Regions from separate parts of the Homo sapiens genome. Here region 1 is linked to region 2. Evidence: promoter capture Hi-C in 16 types of primary human blood cells and fetal thymus (Javierre and others, 2016). All regions are on one chromosome and are shown on one strand. Each heading gives the region's core, a stretch centred on a gene start or on the middle of the fragment in contact. The rest is flanking DNA. Distances are from core to core; before and after follow the strand shown.

Region 1 (6,367 bases), core at 1,547-4,046, 260 kb after region 2:
GCCGTCTGCAGCAGGTGCGGCCGGGAGCCGCAGGCCCGCGCGGTAAATCGCTGTCTCTTTGCGGTCGTTGTTCCCATTCACCGCCCGCCGCCCCCCGCCCCACCACGGTTCTTTTTTTTCTTTCCGCCGCGCAGTTGCCATGGGTTACCAGGGCGGTTGCCATGGGTTACCGGACCGAGGCCGGCTGGCTCGCTACCTGCAGCCCAGTCGCCGCCGCCAGCGGAGCGGCCCGGGCGGGACGCGGCGGGAGCGCGCGTGTGCGGGACGCAGCGCGGGGGATGCGCGCGGGCCGCGGAGGCGCCGCAACCAACAGGCGGCCGAGGGTGCAGCCGCGGGAGCGCCACCGCCAGTGGGGTGGGGGGCAAAGCTATAAAGAAGGCCCAGAGGTAAGAAACTAGCAAAAACACAACCACAAGTTATGCCCGTGCTGTGCCTCTAGCAGCAAAGACAAGCGGTGTGGGGTTGGATGAATCTACACTTCTCGTCGGGGGAGAAAGGGTATTTTCCTCTTTAGCATAAGCCATTTACATAGTGTCTTTAGACCAGAGTTTAAATTCAGCAGGAAATTGTAGCTTAATGGTTTTTTTTCTCTTTTCCTCTATATCTTTTGAAAAGAAGTCTTTGGAATTTTGGAGAAAGAGAAAGGGTCATTAACTACCAGAGTTTGCGCAGCTAAAATAAATTAGTGTCCAATGCACTGCTCATGATCTAGAAAAGTTTGCAGTAGGAGTGAAGCGCAATTGTGTCTGCTAAAAAGGGACAATGGTGACTCGTTTGTAAGATGCATATGGCAAAGAATAGAACCAAAGTCCTTTGTATATATAGCAAATGTTAAAGAAATTGTTGCTTATTTACATCCTTCTGAAATTTTTGAACTCCACTCTATTAAAATTATTAATTTCTTATGACCTTTATTTGCAAAGAAAATTCTATGCTTTGAATGTCAAATTGCAGTAACTAATTTCAGACAGTATTTTGTATTTGAAAATGTGTTTATATATAATAAACTAAGAAAAGGTCTATATTCCAAACAAAAACACAAAATTGTACTGAAATTGTTTCCTTCATTGAAAAGATGTTGCCTTGTATTCACAGGATACCAGCTAAGTAATTTAAATATTAAGAGGAAGACTATTTAGAAACAGAATAAGCTTTGTTATTTTCGTTTAAAATGTTAAGGGGCCTCTAATGAAAAGGGGTTGTCTTTTATAGCTCAAATACTGAAAACCTTATTGGTATCACAGTAGCTCAATAATAATGAATCCTTAAGGCATCCAACAAATACAAACCAAATTCAAAACAACGTCCAGTTTACTGTTGGATATAACGGTTATTGTGGCCAGGCTAAATGAAGTTGTTTAACTTCTTAATTGTCATAAAAGAAACTTTGTTCTTTTACTTTATACTGCATATCACTTGTTTGTATTTAATTATTCAATAAAATGTGGACTAGGTTTGAAAAACTGGCAAGATACTTCATATCTTAAGGAATAGTATCTGCTTAAAAATAAATACTTGTTTGTCCCTAGTAATTTTTAAAACTTGAAATTTTAACTAGAATTAAGTAACTTTCTTCTAAGTGAGACTTTATAAGAAGCCGAAGTAACAGGTTGTTGACGTTCAGTGCTGTTGACACCTTTGGGTTATATATAAATCTAGTTCTACAACAAAACACGTAAGTTGGCTTTATAGGTGAATAGTTTACCCTTTAAGAATCAGCCAGGGAAAATGCAGTTTTGCTGTATTGTAATCATAAAGAATCCAGGATTAGAATTCTTTACATTTAAGTCACATTAAAAATAGTGTTAAATAAACATCTATTCAAGTTAGCTACATCAGTAATTATTTTCTTTTTCCTAAAGAAAGCTTTATAAAAAATATGCCAGAGAAAAATAAGAGACAAAGCAAGAAAACCACTGGGAACTGAAGTTCATCTAAATATCTCAGCTGCAAGAAATCAGTTTTAAGAAGCCAGTGTGTGGACATTGAAACAACTAAACCAAGGCTAAAAGCCTCAAATATGTACAACTATAGCTAATATTAAACCATGTTTTACCAAATTTCCTCATAAAAAATAAAAAACACTGAGTTTGGGTCTAAGGCAGAATATATTCTCTTGTATAAAATAAGTGATCCGGCAAAGTTGATTTTTTTTCACGTTTAATGTAAAAATGATCTCGTGACATTTACATACTAAGTATTAGGCATTACATAATATTAATTTTGATGGCTATGTTACATCATCTAAAAATAATATGACAATTGGTGGCATAGTATGTGTTTTTCAAAACTGCTGTAAAACAGAAATAGTGTGAACTCAAATACATATTGCTGAAGGGATGAGGATCGCTCTTAAATGCCTGGATGGCATGAACTTTACATATTAGCATGGTAAGAAATTACTAAATCTTTTCTTTTCCTGTATTAAAATAATGAGGATCTAAGACACATTAAATCAAAATATTTACAAAAATTTAATAATGTTTTAGACCAAAGAAAAAAAGGACAAATTAAAGAAATCATTCTTATTCTAAATTTAATTTTTTTAATGTTAGTTCTCAGTTTTCTTAGCTTTTTTTTCTGTTGGTTCTTTGAAACAAGCATTGTAAAGACTTTTTAATAATACAATAGCTTTTAAACTCTTAGTGAAAATGAAAAGGTTGCTTTTTGTAGTAGCCTCTGCCACTCTTCAATTAGGCTGGGTAACAAAGCAACAAGTTATCCTAGTTATCTGAAAATATCTTCCTGTTAGTTTCACAGAAATATTTTGTACCATTCAACATGGATGAAACTTGGGTAATTATCTCAAGAAAATGTTGCCTCATCTGAAATCTGAACTTCAAAATAGTTTATCTAAGATATCTTTGGGACACTAAAAAAAAAGACATTTTATGAAAATTATACCAATCTTCAAGTAGATGCTTTAAAAGGGGCTTTTTAAAAATGAATAATTATTTCTGAAATTAGCAAGTCGACATCCTTTTCTAAATTATGGGAATATTTATTGGTAAAATTAAATTTATTAATCTTTATAAAATCCTTCCTCTGATTTAAGTAATAAGTAACCACCACTGATACTGAAAGTTATCTAGTGATAAGAAATTGCACATTTAGTCAAAAAATAAATCATTAACCTGATTATACAATGATAATGAAAACAAATTATTTGTCTCCAGAAACCATTTGTTGAAGCTGATTTTGGATAATGAAAATGTATTTCTGAATCTATATATTACAGTTATAAGTAATATTACTAGCACTATCTATGTTTTTTCTAAGATGTAAACATTATTTTAATATGTCTCTATTCATAAGATACATTTCCATCTAAGCGTGAAACAGAATACTGGAAAGGTTAAATACTCTTAAAATATTTCAGTCTAACACCCAAAAGCATAGTGTTTTGCCAGTGCAGGGGAGGTATCCACAAAATATCAGGCACATATCTGAGAGAGGCAGTCTGGTCTACACTGTTACTCTTCATAGGGTTTAACAACATATACACCGTGTTTATGGTAACACTGCCCCACTGATACAAGAAGGAATGCTCTATCTTGATTTTAAATGCTACTTAGTTACCTATCTTTTTAAATTCAATAAAACCAACTCGGTTTTTTAAAACATGTAAGTCATTTCATTGGAGGGCAAGATCTTGTTTACCAATAATGTCTGCCTGTAAAGGATAGTATTGTATTCACAGGATTTTTAGCTTTACACAGAAGCTTACCTAAAATAAGACAACATAAAAATACCACTAATAAACAACCCAACATCTTTAAGAATTTAAATACCTAACATCATGACAGTGAGCTTTAGGTAAGAATGTATTATTATGAAGCTTTCTTCTCTATGACTGGACATAATTTGCTATTCCTAAGATAGTAACATTAGAATTATTTTTCAGGATTCCTGCGGAGCTGTATTTACTTTACATCCATGTGAACTGCTGTCATCACTACTGTGTCCAAGCCCAGAGGATGAACTGGAAAAGAAGAGAGGGGGAAAATAATAAAAAGAGGAAATTGGTTTTCACAACACACTCAAAGCCTGAGTAACAGAGGAGAACTTTAATTATCTCCAGTCACAAAGAGAGACAGGAAATTTGGACTTTTAATTAGCCATTTGGAGTGCAGTTGGGTATTTTTTTAGCTAGATAATTTAAACGCGAATAATTCAAGTCTGACTAAATGAAAGTCACATAATCAGAATGCAAATAATTGAATTTCTACTGCATTCATTAATTCAGTGTGGAGGTGTGTGTGAAGACTACTATGATGAGCTGTCACAGCTCAATAAAATCTCAGTCAATTAATTTTTTCATTATCTTAGTATTATATCAACAAAAAAGTGAAGTGTGTATATATATCTATACACGTGCATATGTGCATACTATGTATTATATAAATACATATACATTAAATCAAAATGCAAGGAAATACCTTTCTGAATCATAATCTATATCATTTTCTTTTTTTCCTTCTTCATCTTCTTCAGGGAAACGTCTATTCATTAAGGCAAACTTGTGAATTGCTTCTTCCACAGAGTACTTAGTCTGCCCAGAAACACACGCCTCAATGTCTTCTGAATTCAGATGGCTCTGTAAGAAGAGGTGAAGGCTGCTATCTGAAAGCAAAAGTGCATTCTGTAGGACTCTATATTAAAAAAAAAAGGAAAAATAATTGGTGAACAGGATGGTCAGTGATAGGGTAGAAGAAAGAAAAACATTAGAAAAGTACCACTGAAGGTAATTTCTCTACTGTGGTAAACTTTGTATCAATTATGGGCTCTGCCCATTAAGGGGAGGAAAGCATATGTTAACTTTTATTCAATTATTTGGAAATTTAGGTGGGTAAAAACATGAAGCTAATAGTTAAGAACATCTGTTAAAAGAATAACTTCAAGGACATTTCTTCAATTTACCCATCTCTTATTACCATGTGGATTAATTATGGAAATATTTTGCTTATATAGTCATAGAAAGTTATTCTACTTTAAAAAATTTACTGCCAACAGCATGTCAATTCAGTGATCTTTATGGGATAGGCTGTCATGAAACATCAAAACTTTCAACTACTATTAAAAATTATATGAAGAAAATACAATTCTCAGCATATTTTACATTTTAAAACTTTACAGTTATATACTTAAGGGCATGTTTACGACAGCTCATGAGAGAGATGGCTTTTTTTAATACTTAAGGTTAACTGTAAATTTCTCCAAAATCTTTAGGAGCACTGAATCTCTGTGTTGTCAAAATGAGCAACCAAATAAAATTGATCCCAGCCAACTTTACCATATATATAATTAAAATATGATAATTTTGTGATGAATACATACTGCTCTTCCCACATTTAAGATCAAAGTTTACAAAGACAGAACAGATTTCAACCAGGGCATCAGAACTACATGGAAGATTAAAAACTATCCTGTAGCAAAATCTACAGATGCTCAAATTCATATTAGTGAATGTGTTTTCTCTGAAATGCACATCTTAGAATATGAAATCAAATCAAAGTATACCTTTATATTTAAATAAAAACTGGTTTATCTTTTAGCAAAGATGTTGACATATGATCATTTAGTCTCTACTGATAGTTCAATAATTATGTAAGAGGAGACACTAAGACCAGATACAGGGGACAAAACTAACACACTAAAACCCAAGTAGAATTTTGTCCAACATAAGATTTTTCCGATATAACGATCTGTGAAAAATAGATCATGTATTTCAGACCAAATGAACCTTACCTTATATTCTGCTTGTTTAAACAAGTAATAAGGAAAGTAAATCTCTTTTGGCCATTAATATCAATTTAGTGAAAATCCAAGGTCATTATAATACCAAATCCTTTTCTACAAAATAAAACAATTATTTCTTAACAAAGGCAAAAATGCCTAAAAATGCACAGTATTAAAACCAAAATCTAGCTGTCCCCTTTGCTTCAGCAGGTTTACAGTTTGAGAAAATATTCTTTACTGGTCTATTAGAAGGAAAAGTAAAACCTTTGTGCTTTTTAAAAGGCAAAACCTCAAGCAAAGCAGCTAAATCCTTCTTTTTCCCTCTGTGTCCTCCGCCCTGGGTCCTCCCAAAAGATGACCATGTCACATGATAATGATTAATTTACCAAGTACAAGTAGCTAAGTAGTAAATCCCTCTTACTACTCTTTGAGATTTATTTTCTACATTTACAAATATTCACCATTCTTGTTTTTAAATACTTCAGATTAAGAGAAGAGTTATAGAGCAACAATCCATTAATACGAACTTGGATCGTGAAGTCTGTGAAGTCTGAGCAGAGTGTTTCCTGTGGCCTCTGTCAGCGGTTTCCTGCCTGCCATAAGTACAAGGAACTGTTCATGGGATTGT
Region 2 (6,392 bases), core at 876-3,375:
TGTGGATGTATGTGTGTGGTGTATACTTGTGTGTGGTGTGTATTTGTGGTGTGTGTATATGTGTGTGGTGTGTGTATATGTGTGTATGTGTATGTGTGTAGTGTGTGTATATGTGTGTATGTGTATGTGTGGTGTGTATGTGTGTACGTATGTGTGGCAGGTGTGTGTGTGCTTGTGTATGAAGCGTGTGTGGTAGGTGTGTGTGTTTGTGTATGATATGTGCATGTGGTGTGTCTGTGTATGACGTGTGTGGTCTGTGTGTGTCTGTGTTTGTGTATGATGTGCGCATGTGTCTGTTTGTGGTGGGTGTGTGTGGGTGTGTGCTTATGTCTGTGTGTGTCTGTGTTTGTGGTGTGTGTGGGGGGGGATGTATGTGCACATGTGTGTTTGTGTCAGCCAGCCCTGGCTCGCACAGGCAGAGCAGACCACCTCCACAGTGTGACCTGAGGAGCAGTGGCCCTCAAACACCTTTCCCACCATGTGTCATGACACTGCCAACTCCTCCATTAATTTCTCTAAATCAAGGCAGTGATTCCATTTCCTAGGAACTCTCTCAATTACATTTCAAATACCCCTGTATCCATTTGCTAGGGCTGCCATAACAAAATACCACGGACCAGGGCCTTAAACAACAGGCATTTATTGTCTTACAGTTCTGGAGGCTGGAAGTCCAAGATCAAGGCGTAGGCAGGGTTGGCTTCCCCGAGGCCCCTCTCCCTGGCTTGCAGGTAGCCGCCTTGTCTCTGTGTCCTCATGTGTCTTGTCTCTGAGTGTGCACATCTCTGGTGTCTCTTCCTCTTCTTAAAAGGACACCAGTCAGATTGGGTTAGGGCCCATCCACAGGACCCCATTTTAACTTAATCACTTATTCACAGGTCCTATCCAGAGTTAGATTCTGAGGCGCTGGGGGTTAGGGAAGCAGCATAGAAATTTTGGGGAAAAGCAATTCAGCCCATAGCAGCCCTGAGAGAGGTAACACACTAGACTGCTTCGGGGTCACAGGAATGACATTTGCGGCTCCCTTGCTGCACATCTGCTGCTTGAGGGTGGGTCTTTAGGGGATAGTGGGGCTTTTGATAGATGGCCGACCTGGGGCAGGGCAATTCCGGAGCAGAGGGCTCTGACTCCCTGTGAAGGAAGGACCCTGGCTGGAGGATCCCCACCTATGCTCCAAGGTGGTAGCCCTGGGCCTATGAGGGGACCATCACGATGTGGGAATGGGATGCAGGGAGTGGAGCTGAAAGCCCACCAGAGACAAACCCGACTAACTACCCTTCAGTTTTGCCCAAGACGCTGTTCACTTCAACTCATCCATTCATGGAAGTAACTTTCCTGCCAAGCTCTCTTCCTCTGGTGATGGTGGAGATTCTATACACTTTCTTCATGGTCTCTCAGCCAGCGGCAGCTTCTGGGCCCACCTTGCTTCACTCCCCATCCATACCCAGCAGGGGCTTCCTAAGGAACTGTATTAGTCGGTTCTCACACTGCTATAAGGACATACCTACGATTGGGTAATTTATAAAGAAAAAGATTTAATTGACTCACAGTTCCGCAGGGCTGGGGAGGCCTCAGGAAATTTATAATCATGGCGGAAGGAGAAGAAAACACTTCCTTTGCGACGTGGCAGCAGCGAGAAGTGCAGAGGGAAGGAGGGGAAAGCCTCTATAAAACCATCAGATCTCGTGAGAACTCACTTGCTATCACGAGAACCGCATGAGGGTAACCGCCCCCTTGATTCAACTACCTCCCTCCGGGTCCTTCCCAGGACACATAGGGATAATGGGAACTGCAATTCAGCATGAGATTTGAGTGCGGACACAGCCAAACCGTATCAGGAACTTATGTGATTAAGCAGTACATTTGAAGAGGAAATGGTTGAGCCGTTGTTATAAGATGCTTCCCAGAGCTTTGCGGTGTCCAGCATTCTGACATCAACGTAGGGTTTCTATCAAGTAGTTGGGCTGTCAGTCTACCACCAGCAAATAAACCTGACCCTCTAAAGGCTGATAGAAAGAAACATCCCATAAGGGGTAGCTCTTCCCTTTACATTACCACCTACCTCAACAATGAGGTCAGCGGGATAGAGCAGAAATTGCACTGGGCTGGAAACCGAGATCCTACTGCTGATTTTGTCTCCAAGTGACTTTGTGACCTCATATAAGTCATTTAACCTTCGTGGGCCTCTTTCCTCGTGAAGGAAATGATGAAAGTGAGTGTTGGAACAATCTGTGATACTCAGCGGCAGGAAAGCTCACCCAGAAGGCTGAAATCTGCATACATAAATAACTCGAAAACAAAGCCATGCTTGGTCCTTTTTTATTTAGTTCAATCAACATATCTCATCTAATGTTAAAAGAAAGGACATAGGATTTTTTTAAAGAAATTTTTGTTTTGAACTAATTTTAGACTTACAGAAAAGTGGCAAAAGTAATATATACTTTCCTTATATCTCTTCTATCATTTCCCCTGATATCACCATCTTATATAACCATAGTACAACTATTAAGAACTGGAAATTAACATCGGCACAATGTAACTAACTGAACTACAGTCCTATTTGAAACTCACAATTTTTTTCCACTAATGTCCTTTTTTTCTGCTCAGGATCTAATCTAAGATCCTAAATTGCATTTAGCTGTATTTCTCCTTCTTCTCCTCCACTGGGTAACGGTTCCATGGTCTCTCCTTTACTTTCATGACCCTGACACTTTGGAAGAAAATGGATCGGTTCCACAGGAGAATATCCCTCAGTTTGGGTTTGTTTGTGCATTCTCATGAGTGGGGTAAGGTTATGCCTTTTTGGTGAGAATACACAAAAATCATGGCACATCTTCCTCAGTGCATCATTCAAGGGGTTCATGAGAGCCACATCTTATAACTGGTGACATTGATCTTGGTCACTTGATTAAGGTGGTGTCTGCTGGGTTTCTCACTGTCAAGTTATTATCTTTCCCTTTGCAGTGGATAAGTATCTAGGCTGACGCTTTGAGACTAGGCATGGCCTGTTTGTCCTCCAGCTTTCACTCACCAGTGCTAGCATCCCTCAGCAGATCTTGTCTGCAGTGCTCACTCTGTGGAGTCCTGTCCTCTTCCCTTCTACATGTATTCATTGGCGTTCCACTGTGCAGAAGCGCTGTCTTTTCTCCTTCATTATTTATGTGGTTTTTGTTTGTTTATTCATATCAGTGTGGATGTTTAATTATTGTATTTGTGGATGTTTTTAGTCTAGCTTAAAATGTAACGCTATCTTTATCTTGCTGCTCAGATCGTCTCAGCTCTTCGCTCTTTCACATTGGTTCCCGAGCTCTTTTGACAGACTCTTATCTTTATTTTGAGCATTTTCTTATTTTCTGGCACCACAAGATGTTTCAGACTGACCTTGTGTTTTCCATGTCCTGGCTTGGGAATCAGCCACTTCTTCACGATTCCTGGTTCCTTTTACAGGAGAATGGTGTGGAGAGACCAAGATCTATGTTGTAGATGGGTCCATTGTTATTGGAATGGTATTGCTTTTAAGCCCTCAAAACAGAGGGCTAGGTATATATGTGTGCATGCTAAGCTGCACAAACATACCCATCTACCTCTGTCTTCTTCTCTCCTGCCCTCTTTAAAGATCTTGAGTTCATAGTGATACCCATGATTCTAAGCTATACCACAGGAAATCATTTTATACTTGTTTCTTCTCTTATTTGTGACATCTTTCTCCAACAGTGAAAACCCTGGCTCTCATCATATACAATATATTTACTTATTTGTTCAATTCCACTACCGTTGTCCCTTGGTATACACAGGGGTTTGGTTCCAGGACCCCCTCACCCATGCCAAAGTTCGTGCATACTCAAGTTCCGAAGTCAGACCTGGGCAACATGAGTAGAGGAAAAGTCTGCCCTCCGCCTCTGCAGGTTTCAAATCCCTCGAATACCGTAAACCACGCCTGGTTGAAAAAAGCCCATGTATAAGTGGACCCTCGCAGTTCAAACCTGCATTGTTCAAGGGTCAACTGTATCTATATAAAGTAGTTTTGAACGGCTAGCTCATACTGCCATGAGAAATGCTTTTACTAACTGATCACAGCGTTTATGCACAGTTCCATGCCCTTGGCTTTTCAGCATCCAGCGGAATACTGTTTTCCACAGTGGTTTAGATTAGTTATTTTCTTCCCTGTTCCTTGAATGTGGTTACCTTATTTATTTGCAGTAGAGTTAGACTCCTTTATTAGTGTTTATTATATTCCATTTTGGGTTCCCTCCACATCCCAGTTGCTTTTAATTATTTGTTTAGTTTGGGTGTTATGTAAATAATTACTATGGTCAAAGAGTCAGATCTGTACAAAAAGCTGTATACAGAGAAGGATCTTTCCCTCCTCAACCCTCCCCTTTCCCACTCACCCCCTGTAGGTAGCCAACATCTTTAGTTTCTGGTTTATGTTCCTGTATTTGTTTTTCCTTTCTTTTCTCTTTTTTTTTTTTTTTTTTTTTTTTGTTTTTTGAGGTGGAGTCTCACTCTGTCACCAGGCTGGAATGCAATGATGGGATCTTGGCTTGCTGCAGCCTCAACCTCCTGGGCTCAAGTGATCCTCCTACCTCAGCCTCCCGAGTAGCTGGGACTACAGGCATGCACCACCATGCCCATGCCCAGCTAAATTTTTTTTTTTAATAGACTGGGTCTCACTATGTTGCCCAGGCTGGTCCTGAACTCCTGGACTCAAGTGATCCGCCCACCTCGGCCTCCAAAACTGTTGAGATTTCAGGCATGAACCCTGCGCCCAGCCACTTATATTTCTTTATACAAGGGAGCAGATAGCTGGGTATTTTCTTATTTCCCCTTCTTTATTACATGAAGAGTAGCATGCTATAAATACTGTTTTGGATTTTGCTTTTTTTCACTGAACAATAGGATATGAGATCTTTTTTTTTTTTTCAAAATAAGTCATGAATTTCAAAAGTCTGAGGAATGCTATGCAAACTGGATCATCTCTAACCATTTAAAAGTAGAAGATTCTAAATGGGGCACTAGAATGGTCTACTAGTTTAGAAAACTAGTCTAGAAAGACTGAAGGGTCCTTGCTTTCCAAGATCTTCCAAGGAAACTAAAGAGACAAAATGGGCATGCATAGAAAAAATTATGTCAATCTTCCGAGAAGAATCGCATCTTCCTGATAGGCAGGAAAAAAGATATCAGACAGTGACAACTTTGTCAAAGAAATGCCAGGTGGAAAGAGAGCAAAGCAATAATGATATGAGGCAGTGCAAAGCTCTTGAATTTCAAGAGACCCATAAGTTCAGCTGAGCTTCTGGCTTGTTGCAGGTCATATTGTCACGTAACTTTCTTTAGTGCACTTTCTGTATGGGTCCCTTTTGTCAATGTCTCCCAGACTTCAGCGTACACACAAATTACCTGCAGGCAGGCAGATCTTGTTTTTTGTTTTTTCAAATATGAGTATGAAATGTCCCATTTTCTTCCGCCTTTATTTATCAGTCACTCTCCTCTCGGCTGTGATTTTTTTCTAAAAATGAATGAACTGCCCATCACCGGAGCCTGAGCTCTGTTGGTGACACAGAAGTCAAGAAGGCATGGTCCTTGCCTTCGGGAAGGAATAGTATGAGACAGTAGTACAAGGGAGAGAAGACGATGCACAAACATGGACACTCAGACGTGGGAGAGTCTGTCTGGCCATGGGGGATAGCAGACAGCTGTAACTTGTTCCAAAAAAGAATAATTAATAATGATACAGTTCTAGGGAGACTAAAGGAATTGTTTCATTCTTCAAGATGAAAAATCGATTTCTTAACAAAGACTGAATTTGGTTGTGAACTGGAGAAATGTTCTCTCACTTTAAACTCTCTCTTGTCTTGGTTTCGTTCTATATTTTTAAGTCCTCTATTAGTTTAGTCACATGCAATTAACGTGTTCCATTTGACATTGGGATTAGTAATCCTCATGAACACATTAGTTCTTTTTTCTTTATTTCTATAGGTTTTTGGGCAACAGGTGGTGTGTGGTTACATGCGTAAGTTCTTTAGTGGCGATTGTGAGATTTTGGTGCACCCATCACCCAGCAGTATACACTGAACCCAATTTGTAGTCTTTTATCCGTCACCCCCTTCCCAGCCTTTCCTCCAGAGTCCCCAAAGTCCACTGTGTCATGACCCACTGCCGCAGTAGGTCTGAGGTGGGGCCCAAAATTCTGCATTCCTAAGGAGCTCTGAGGCATGCTGATGCTGTTGGTTCATGGACCACACCCTAAGCAGCAAGACCTTATATGGCGCCTGTGGCTTGAGTTCCAAGAACCACTTCCTTAGGTAGAGAATCAATATGCTTGTTTGCCATATGTAAAAAAGAAAAAAAATCCCAAGAGAAAGCTGATGCATAACTCTAGCATTCTCCTGTTT

The links. Contacts are between HindIII fragments. The CHiCAGO score rates a contact against its expected background, and 5 or more counts as called.
Region 1: a contact is called between a fragment that was not itself captured here and the fragment with the promoter of LINC02860 in region 2, in 3 of 17 cell types (megakaryocytes, erythroblasts and endothelial precursors). The highest score is 7.8, in megakaryocytes.

What each region holds. Positions count from the first base shown.
Region 1 is chr7:26,370,106-26,376,472 of GRCh38, reverse strand. It overlaps SNX10 (sorting nexin 10), which reads right to left. Exons shown (of 7, transcript NM_013322.3): 6 at 4,440-4,652; 7 at 2,090-3,982. The coding sequence ends at 3,901. It overlaps SNX10-AS1 (SNX10 antisense RNA 1), which reads left to right. Exons shown (of 2, transcript NR_136272.1): 2 at 3,905-4,454. Among named protein-coding and RNA genes, the nearest start is that of LINC02981, 25 kb to the left of the region's middle. The HindIII fragment of the contact is 1,856 bases long and covers 1,869-3,724 here.
Region 2 is chr7:26,633,604-26,639,995 of GRCh38, reverse strand. It overlaps LINC02860 (long intergenic non-protein coding RNA 2860), which reads right to left and starts at 2,125. Exons shown (of 4, transcript NR_161202.1): 1 at 2,060-2,125; 2 at 652-1,501. The HindIII fragment of the contact is 19,305 bases long and covers 1-6,392 here.